Regions from separate parts of the Homo sapiens genome. Here region 2 is linked to region 1. Evidence: promoter capture Hi-C in human tissues and cell types (Jung and others, 2019). All regions are on one chromosome and are shown on one strand. The core of a region is centred on a gene start or on the middle of the fragment in contact, and the rest is flanking DNA. Distances in the headings are between cores, read along the strand shown. Region 1 holds the start of UBAP2 (ubiquitin associated protein 2). Region 2 overlaps UBAP2 (ubiquitin associated protein 2).

Region 1 (4,446 bases), core at 1,336-3,835:
AAAAAAAAAAAAAGAGGACTGGGAAATCAACAATTCAAAGCTAACATTTTAGAAGTAAAGGCTTCATGCCGGGCGGGGTGGCTCACGCCTGCAATCCCAGCACTTTGGGAGGCAGGCGGATCACGGGGTCAGGAGATCAAGACCATCCCGGCTAACACAGTGAAACCCCATCTCTACTGAAAAATACAAAAAATTAGCCGGGCGTGGTGGTGGGTGCCTGTAGTGCCAGCTACTCGGGAGGCTGAGCCAGGAGAATGGCGTGAACCCGGGAGGCGGAGCTTGCAGTGAGCCGAGATCAGGCCACTGCACTCCAGCCTGGGCGACAGAACAAGACTCCATCTCAAAAAAAAAAAAAAAAAAAAAAAAAAAAAGAAGGCTTCACTTCAGACCACTCCAAACCTTCAAGAAAGGTTTGTACTTTCTACACATATTTTATACTTAAGAGGGTAGATACCGGGACCAGTTCCCATCACAATACAAGTACATATTGAAATAAACCTATTAGTCTACATGTTCTCACACCATCACACCATTTCTCCCCATACAATAAAAGTCACTCAGGCTAATACTAAGAGAGACACTCCTGGTGATCACTACATAGACTGCACTAGTAACCAGGAAAGGGAAGCAGAGGTGTTATTGTTGTTCCAATATAGTTCTAAAGGCAACTCCATGTGACTACTGCTGATCCAGCCCACATTTAAAGGGAGGACAGAGGAAACCAGAGCAGCAGGAAACAGGCAAGAGAGGCAATTACCACAACCCTTTCCCATGGCCTCATTCTCTCCCATGCCACCACTTTCGGGCATATTTCAATCACAACAAAAACCTTCCTTCTCTGAAAGGTTTCATAATTATTGAGGGTGAGAGGCAACAGGGAAGCAAATGGGGGAAATCAGCGCTGTGGGAAAATCTCTCGTCACACGTATCAACTAGCCATAAGTAGGAAAATCAGGAGTATGCTGGCAGCAAGCAAAAGGGCAGTTTGGGAAACTAATCACTTCTGCCTAATGATAAGAGAAGCCTTCAAAGCAATGGAAGGACAACCCTAGCGAAGGGGCTCCACAGGTGAGTGTATTGAAGGAAACTATCATCTCCAGGGAGTGGAATACATTCCCTTTCCTGAGGTAAAAGGGGAACACACCAATGTAGGATACGGGAGAGCTTAGGTATCATGTTCAACTTCCTTCCACCTTTCACAAACTGGCACTAAAACGGATACACAATTCACAGTGAAAAGTGAGGAATGCAATAACTAGTCGCATACCCCTTGTTGAAAAAAGTGCTGTCACAACGGAAGAGGAATATAAGAACTGGGTTCACCCAAGAAATTATATGCCCTTCAAATAAAAGATAATCTTTGGATACCTTATGGAGACCTGAAAAAACCCTCAACTAGCTGAGCACCGTGGTGCACACTGTAATCCCAGATACTCAGGAGGCTGAGGTGAAAGAATCGCTTAAACCCAGGAGCTGGAGGCCAGCCTGGGCAACATATGGAGACCATATCTCTAAAATTAATAGTAATTTTTTAAAATCTCTCAACTGTTAGGATACACTGGTGCTGTAGAAAGACAATAAGCCTAAATACTGGCAAACCATATACCTTCCTTGAATGTGAGGTAAAAACAATATCCAATAGAAGTGGTAGTAAATGACTGGATTACATCAAACAGGAAATAACAGTAATAATGATGGGATCAACCCCTAAAGCGAGCAAGCATTAGAGACCAGAGTGGTGACAGTTGAGATGCGTGGGCAACTAATTAGACTAAAAACTCAGGGGAAAATGTGGAAAAGCCGAGTGGGAAAGTGATTCAGAGGCAAACAACTGAGTTGTAATGCACCAATGAAAGAATAACATTTTGAGTATGTATTATTAACAGAGAGAGCTTTGCCGTTTACAAAGCGCTCAAAAACCTACATTAAATAATGAACTGTGATATAACCAGACTACAGGAACGGCGGGTGTGGAGGAAAACTGAGTCCCAATTGAGACCAATGCCCTACAGAATTGAAAAGAAGTAGAACTGAACTGTGACTCCGGGTAAGCCAGGAAAGGTTAGAGAGCGCATAAGTTGGGGCTATAACAGGGCCAGTCCCAAGACTAGCTACGGGCGTGAAAGCGGAAAGGTGATGAGATGGGACCGACAGCGTGGCGGGGAAGCTCCAGTCTACTGGCAGGCACCGAGGTGGGAGAGAAAACCACACCCTCCAGGGCAGAAACCCGAAAGGGGGGAGGGGAGGCACCCCTGGGGCTGGGTGGGGCCCAGCCGACCTGGACGGGGGAAAGTAGGAAGAAGCACAGGGCAACGTGAGGGGAAGAGGAAGGAGGGAGCCCGGGCCTGGACGTAGAGGGACCGTGGACCTGGCGAGTGAAGCTCGGCCCGGTCCTCACGGGTGGGCGCCGGGGCAGTCTGCAGGCGGTGGGGTTTCAGACGAGCTGAACCCAGAATTAGAAAGCACACGCTGCAGCGCTCAGGGCCCTGGAAGAGGGAAGGAGAGGGAGAGGATGGCAATTACCGCTGCTGCTCTCGGAGGACCCAAGACCCGCTGCCGCCGCCGCCGCTCGTTACCTGCCAATGTGCCTCTTACAAAGCGGCGGCGGCGGCACAGGCTGCCCAACCCGTCACGTGACCTCGCGTCACGGGCGAAGGAGGAGCCACAACACGTCGCTCGTGCGCGGCTTCAGAGTCAGCCTAGGCGGCGCGCGGCCTCTTCCAGCCACCACCTCCACCCCAACCCCGCGAAGCCAACCGCGTGGAGGTGGGGACCACAGAAAGGAACAAATAAGGGAGACTTGATAATATGTATTGTACTCGGAGTCATCAGGAGAGTATTACCCACCGCATACAAGGTGCCCACAACTGCAGCTCGTCGTCGCGCCGTGATGACCTCACAAAGCACCACAGGTTACTCCCCTGTGGCCGCCCTGTGCTCATCACGTGATGTGGTCCAACCACTCAGGGCAAGCCTGGCCTCCCAAATGTTGCACGAGGGGACCACGACTCCCAACATGCTGCACAGCCAAGGCGACCCCTACCGCAGCCTTTCTCCAGCGGGCTTCTAGACGAACCCCCTAGAGACCTTAGAGCCGAGGGAAGGCCGGGACGGAAAGCGGACTAAGCTGGCTTGAAGGACTAATACCATTGGATGCCGCCCGCCATGTGGCGGAGCGTGGTGCCTGCTGGGAGGTGTAGTCCTGGCGGGGGGTGGGGTTCCGCTCCCACGTTCCTGGGCTCGCTCTGCGCCCTGCCCCCTGCGCGGGAAAACGCCAACGGCTAGCAGCGAGAGCCTCGGCAAGGCGGAAGGTGCGCCCACTTTTAGTCTTTTTCAGTGCGGTTTTACTTTTGCCCTCCCAAGCCCCTTCTGGGTGAAAAGACTAGAATCTACTGAACGCCTACTCCAAGTCAGCCGTTTATTTCTGTTATATCATATAATCAACTCCTTGAGTCCAGGATTTTCCCTATTTAAGGATTTAAAAAAAGAACCTTAGAGTTGTTTGTTGACCGAAGAGACCCAGGTTTTCTGTCTTTAGAAAATTAATGACCTCCTCTCAATAGGATCTGACCTGTTGTCAACTCCAAGAATTACGAATAAATAAGATGATGGTTTATAATTGTAGCATGGTGTTTTAAAGTATTTTCCATTTACTGGCCTGTTTGGATGTGAGGGCGTTCTGGCTATCTTGTCACCCCATAGATCGCCAGGGCTGATTCGGCTGATCTGGCTGTCTAGGCGGGTGGCCCCTTCCTCCCGCACCTCTCCATGTGCGTCCCTCCCGAAGCTGCATATTCGGTCGAAAAGGAGGAGCATCCCCCATAGAAGAGGACAAGTCAAGGATATAGGAGTAGCTGCACGCCCGTGTTAACAAGCTCTCAAGGTCCTCTAAACAAGCTCTCAAGGTCTACTTACTGGCCTGTTTTATCCCAAGCTAGTTACATACAAGGACTTTGCAGTCCCGGCATGCCTTATCTCAATTGGAGCTTTCCTCTGTAATAACACTTCACCGGCTTGTGAAAATTAAATGAGATTATGTAAAATGCCTGCTTGACACATAATAAACCCTCAGTAAGTATCAGTAATCATTTTCACACTCTACCCATCGGGCCCAAAAGGTCTAAGTAAGGTAGAAAGGGGAAATTAGCTTATACTGAACTTTGTACAGGGCACTATGCTAATTACTAATTTGCTAGTTATTAAGTAAAACAATTGACATCTTAAACAGCCCTATCTAGTTCAAATAAAGCCTTTGTTATTCATCTGAATTAAAGAATGCTGCCGGGCGTGGTGGCTCACACCTGTAATCTCAGCACTTTGGGAGCCGGAGGAGGGCGGATCACAAGATACGGAGTTTGAGACCAGCCTGACCAACACGGTGAAACCCCGTCTCTGTTAAAAATACAAAAAAATGTCCGGGCGCGGTGGCTCACGCCTGTAATCCCA
Region 2 (4,446 bases), core at 508-3,007, 55 kb before region 1:
TGTACATCTTTACACAGCCTCGCCGAAAGGTACTCTATCTTTATAAAGGGGCCAGCTGTCTTTGTAAAACATCTGAGAAACACTTTACCCCATTTCATATAGCAAATGATACCCTGGCCAGGCACGGTGGCTCACACCTGTAATCCCAGCACTTTGGGAGCCCAAGGTGGGCAGATCATGAGGTCAGGAGTTCCAGACCACCCTGGCCAACATGGTGAAACCCCATCTCTACTAAACATACAAAAATTAGCAGCCGGGTGCAGTGGCTCATGCCTGTAATCCCACCACTTTGGGAGGCTGAGCGGGTGGATCACCTGAGGTTGGGAGTTCAAGACCAGCCTGACCAACATGGAGAAACCCCATCTCTACTAAAAATACAAAATTAGCCGGGCGTGGTGGCGCATTCCTGTAATCCCAGCTACTCGGGAGGCTGAGGCGGAAGAATCGCTTGAACCCGGGAGGCAGGAGGTTGTGGTGAGCCGAGATCACGCCATTACTCTCCAGCCTGGTCAACAAGAGCAAAACTCCATCTCAAAAAAAAAAAAAAAAAAAAATTAGCCAGGCGTGGTGGCACATGTCTGTAATCCCAGCTACTCAGAAGGCTGAGGCAGGAGAACTGCTTGAACCTGGGAGGCAGAGGTTGCAGTGAGCTGAGATCATGCCATTGCACTCCAGCCTGGGTGACAGCGCAAGACTCCCATCTCAAAAAAATAAAAATAAAAAAAAGATACCCTCCCCATCCTACTGCCCCTCAAGCAAAGTCTTGGTTTATGAGCTCTACAAAGACAACTTATCGGGCGGAGGGGGGGGGGCACAAATAGGGAAAAGAACCTTTAAGAAGCAATCTTTACAATACCATAGTAACTGCTAAAAAGATTACTGTGTATTTTGCTGAAGTCTGCAAAGTATACACACATGCATACTTTAAAAAGTTAACCAAGTAATTATGGAGGATTTCCAAGAGAATTTCTGGCAACCTCTGTTATCGGTATTTTGCTAGTTGCAGAACAGGTCTGAAGAAACTCTAAGAGGAGAGGTCCTCCCAGCCACCACATAATAATCAGAACAGCAGTCTTCGAAGCCAGCTAGTTCAAAAATTACTCTCCCACCACTTTGCCTTTGCCAAAAACTACCAACACAAACAACTTACTAAAAAGAGTTAAGTACATTAATTCAAGAGACCGATACTTCAAAACAATTTTGTCACATCAACCAAACATTATGATGAAACAAAAAGTTCAGTACTTATGTTCAATATCTTCCTTTGTGACAGATATACTTACATAAGAAAAAATAAATTTATCCTTAAAAACATCATGGACGATTCCACTTAACACCTTTTCCAAGTAATAATTTTGTTTCAGCACAGAGGAAGGTTAGATAATAGGAAAAGAATCGTTTGCCTTCATGCTCTTGCTCCTAGCAACATCACAGTGTTTATATTCTGTCAACCCTACTCCAATTAACTCTATCTCAGTCAAGGGAAGATAATCAAAGCTGTTTAGCCATAGGTGCTGCAGATGGCAACTAGGTAAGAGATGAGGCAAACAGTATGAGAGACAAGATGTACCAGAGAGTGGTCCTCAACAAACCAGGGTTTCAAAGACTCCAGCCTGAGCAACATAGAAACACAGAGACCCCCTAACTCTACAAAATATAAAAATGATTAGCCAAGCGTAGTGGCATGCGCCTGTGGTCCCGGCTACTCGGCAGGCTGGAGGATGGCATAAGCCCGGGAGGTCGAGGCTGTAGTAAACCGTGATGGCACCACTGCACTCTAGCCTGGGCAACGGAGTGAGACCCTGTCTTAATAAAAAACCCAAAACACCAAACAACTAAAACAAAGACTTTACCTCTACTTCTGTCCCCCACAGCCCACTCAGCCCTGAACAAGTGTATTCTTTCACAACTATATTCAGAACTTCATTTGCTATTTTCTTATCTTTGAAGAAAACAAGAAGTCAGATATAGCCCACACTATAAAATCGTTCAAGAGGTAACCAAAGAGGTGTTCTTCATGAAAAGTTCAGCTTTGCTTTCTTTTTTTTTTTTTTTTGAGACCGAGTCTCGCACTGTCGCCTGGGCTGGAGTGCAATGCCGCGATCTCGGCTCACTACAACCTCTGCTTCCCGGGTTCAAGCAATTCTCCTGCCTCAGCCGCCTGAGTAGCTGGGATTGCAGGCGCCCACCACCACACCTGGCTAATTTTTTGTATTTTTAGTAGACATGGGGTTTCGCCATGTTGACCAGGCTGGTCTCAAACTCCTGACCTCGTGATCTGCCCACCTAGGCCTTCCAAAGTGCTGGGATTACAGGCATGAGCCGCAGTGCCCAGTCAGTCTTACTTTCTAATACATAGCCCAGAACCAGCTCCTTCAGGTTCGGTCCCAAAGGAGGAGGGGGTGTTAAAACTCAAAACAGAAAGAGAAAACTGGACATTTAAAACTTAAAAATTCACCAAACTACCAGAGAAAAGGAATTAAATCTGCTGGAGCTAAAGGAAAGGCAACAAAAAATAGTGTCTGGACTTATCTCTACCATAAAAAGATCCAAAAAGATCCTCTCCAGTGAACAATTTGGGTTATTTTGTTTATTCCCAAAGATTTTTTCTTTTTTTTTTTTTTCCCTAAACAAAGAGGGCGGTTAGGCTCTTCAGTTCACTTTGAAAATAACTGAAAGCCACTCTCTGCTGTACCCATTAGCGATAAGGTAAACAGATCCTCCATATTTTGCAAAACCCAGGATACTTAGTCCCAGGTCAGTAAACAAAAACTATTCAAAATTTTAATTTATCATATAATATGGTTTTCCCAAAAAAAAAAAATCACAAATTTGATGGTTTGTCTTGTGTACCAGTGTTCTCTTACATGGAATTTTACCAACAATTACTGCTACACTCAAACAGTGAAATCTTTTCCACATTAGTTAATTTTTACTTTAAAAGAATTCATTCTCTTTGTTTCACATCAACTAAAAACACAGTCATTTTAGCTTTCAGTTTCTCAGAGTTCATTTTTGTATTTCTTGTACCTAATGCAGCATGACCCTAAAATGAGACTTCAATTAAATCTGAACACTGACACGGTCAGTTTGTTTGTTTTAAATTTTCCAAGGAAAGGTAGTTATTGATGTGTTCATCTTTGTATCCTCTTTTAGGTGAGTCATTTTTTTTTAATCTACTCTAAAATAGTTTCCTCAATTTAAGAAACATAAACACAGGTCAGGTGTGGTGGCTGACACTTGTAATCCCAACACTTTGGGAGGCCAAGACGGGTGGATCACCTGAGGTCAGGAGTTTGAGACCAGTCTGGCCAACATGGCGAAACCCCACCTCTACTAAAAATACAAAAATTAGCTGGTCGTGGTGGCGCATGCCTGTAGTACTAGCTACTTGGGAGGCTGAGGCAAAAGAATCACTTGAACCCAGGAGACGGAGGTTGCAGTGAGTCAAGATCACACTACTGCACTCCAGCCTGGGTGGCAGAGTGAGGCTGTCTCAAAAAAATAAATAAATATATAAATATATATATTAAATATAAATATATATATAAAGTATATATATTTATATATTATTAAACAAATATTATAAATATTATATATAATATATATTAAATATATAAATATATTTATATTATTAAATATATATATTTATATTATTAAATATATAAATATATTTATATTATTAAATATATTATTAAATAATTTAATTTAATTTAAAATTAAATTATTTAAAATTTAAAATTATTAAATAAATATATATTTATAAATAAATATATACATATGTATAAAAACTATAATATATAAATATAAATATATACACACAGCAAAATTTTAGGGCTGACAAGTGCCTGGTGTAGCTTTAGCTGTATCCTTCTTAAAATCCAAGGCCTGAGCTCATGAGCCTGCAAGCTCACCAAACTTAACCCAATATTAAAAAAAAAAAAGAAAACTTAATATTCCACATAAGCAAATACATATACCAGCAAATCCTGGTTTTCTGTTATAATAGAGATGTAAGAAGTAATCAGAGGTGAGGACTGAGATGAAGAAACATAAGCAACAGAGCCAAGAGATGCTTTTCAGGTGGGGGTGGTGAAAATATACACAGGCACAGAGATTTTTGGAAACTGTAAGGCTGGAGTAGATCACCAAGTTCTCTTTCAAGTCATCAGATTCTACGACTTCATGAAGAAACCATACATAACAAAAACAGTCTTTTCAGGTAATCGTTCTTTCTGGAACTTAAAACAAATATGGAATGGCACCATAATCCATTCCATCCCTACCCCCAAACAAGGTGAAGTTGAAAATGTGCTACGGAATTGGAGACAAATGTAAACAATGCAAATCAATTAATAATACTTACTGTGTCTGAATTCCCTTCCAGCAATATATTGATAGCTTTGTTCACATCTCCATTACAATCATGTAGGGCCACTATGCATT

The links. Contacts are between HindIII fragments. The study calls those that stand out against the background at their distance.
Region 2: a contact is called between a fragment that was not itself captured here and the fragment with the promoter of UBAP2 in region 1, in 1 of the 25 tissues and cell types used here (liver).

Annotation. Positions count from the first base shown.
Region 1 is chr9:34,046,302-34,050,747 of GRCh38, forward strand. UBAP2 (ubiquitin associated protein 2) reads right to left here and starts at 2,586. Exons shown (of 29, transcript NM_001370062.2): 1 at 2,524-2,586. It also overlaps the pseudogene RN7SKP114. RefSeq lists enhancers at 1,696-2,552, 2,553-3,408, 2,689-3,218, 3,409-4,265, 4,266-4,446 and silencers at 2,369-2,418, 2,569-2,658. The HindIII fragment of the contact is 41,306 bases long and covers 1-4,446 here.
Region 2 is chr9:33,991,857-33,996,302 of GRCh38, forward strand. UBAP2 (ubiquitin associated protein 2) reads right to left here. Exons shown (of 29, transcript NM_001370062.2): 4 at 4,367-4,446. Among named protein-coding and RNA genes, the nearest start is that of SNORD121A, 41 kb to the left of the region's middle. The HindIII fragment of the contact is 5,057 bases long and covers 1-4,286 here.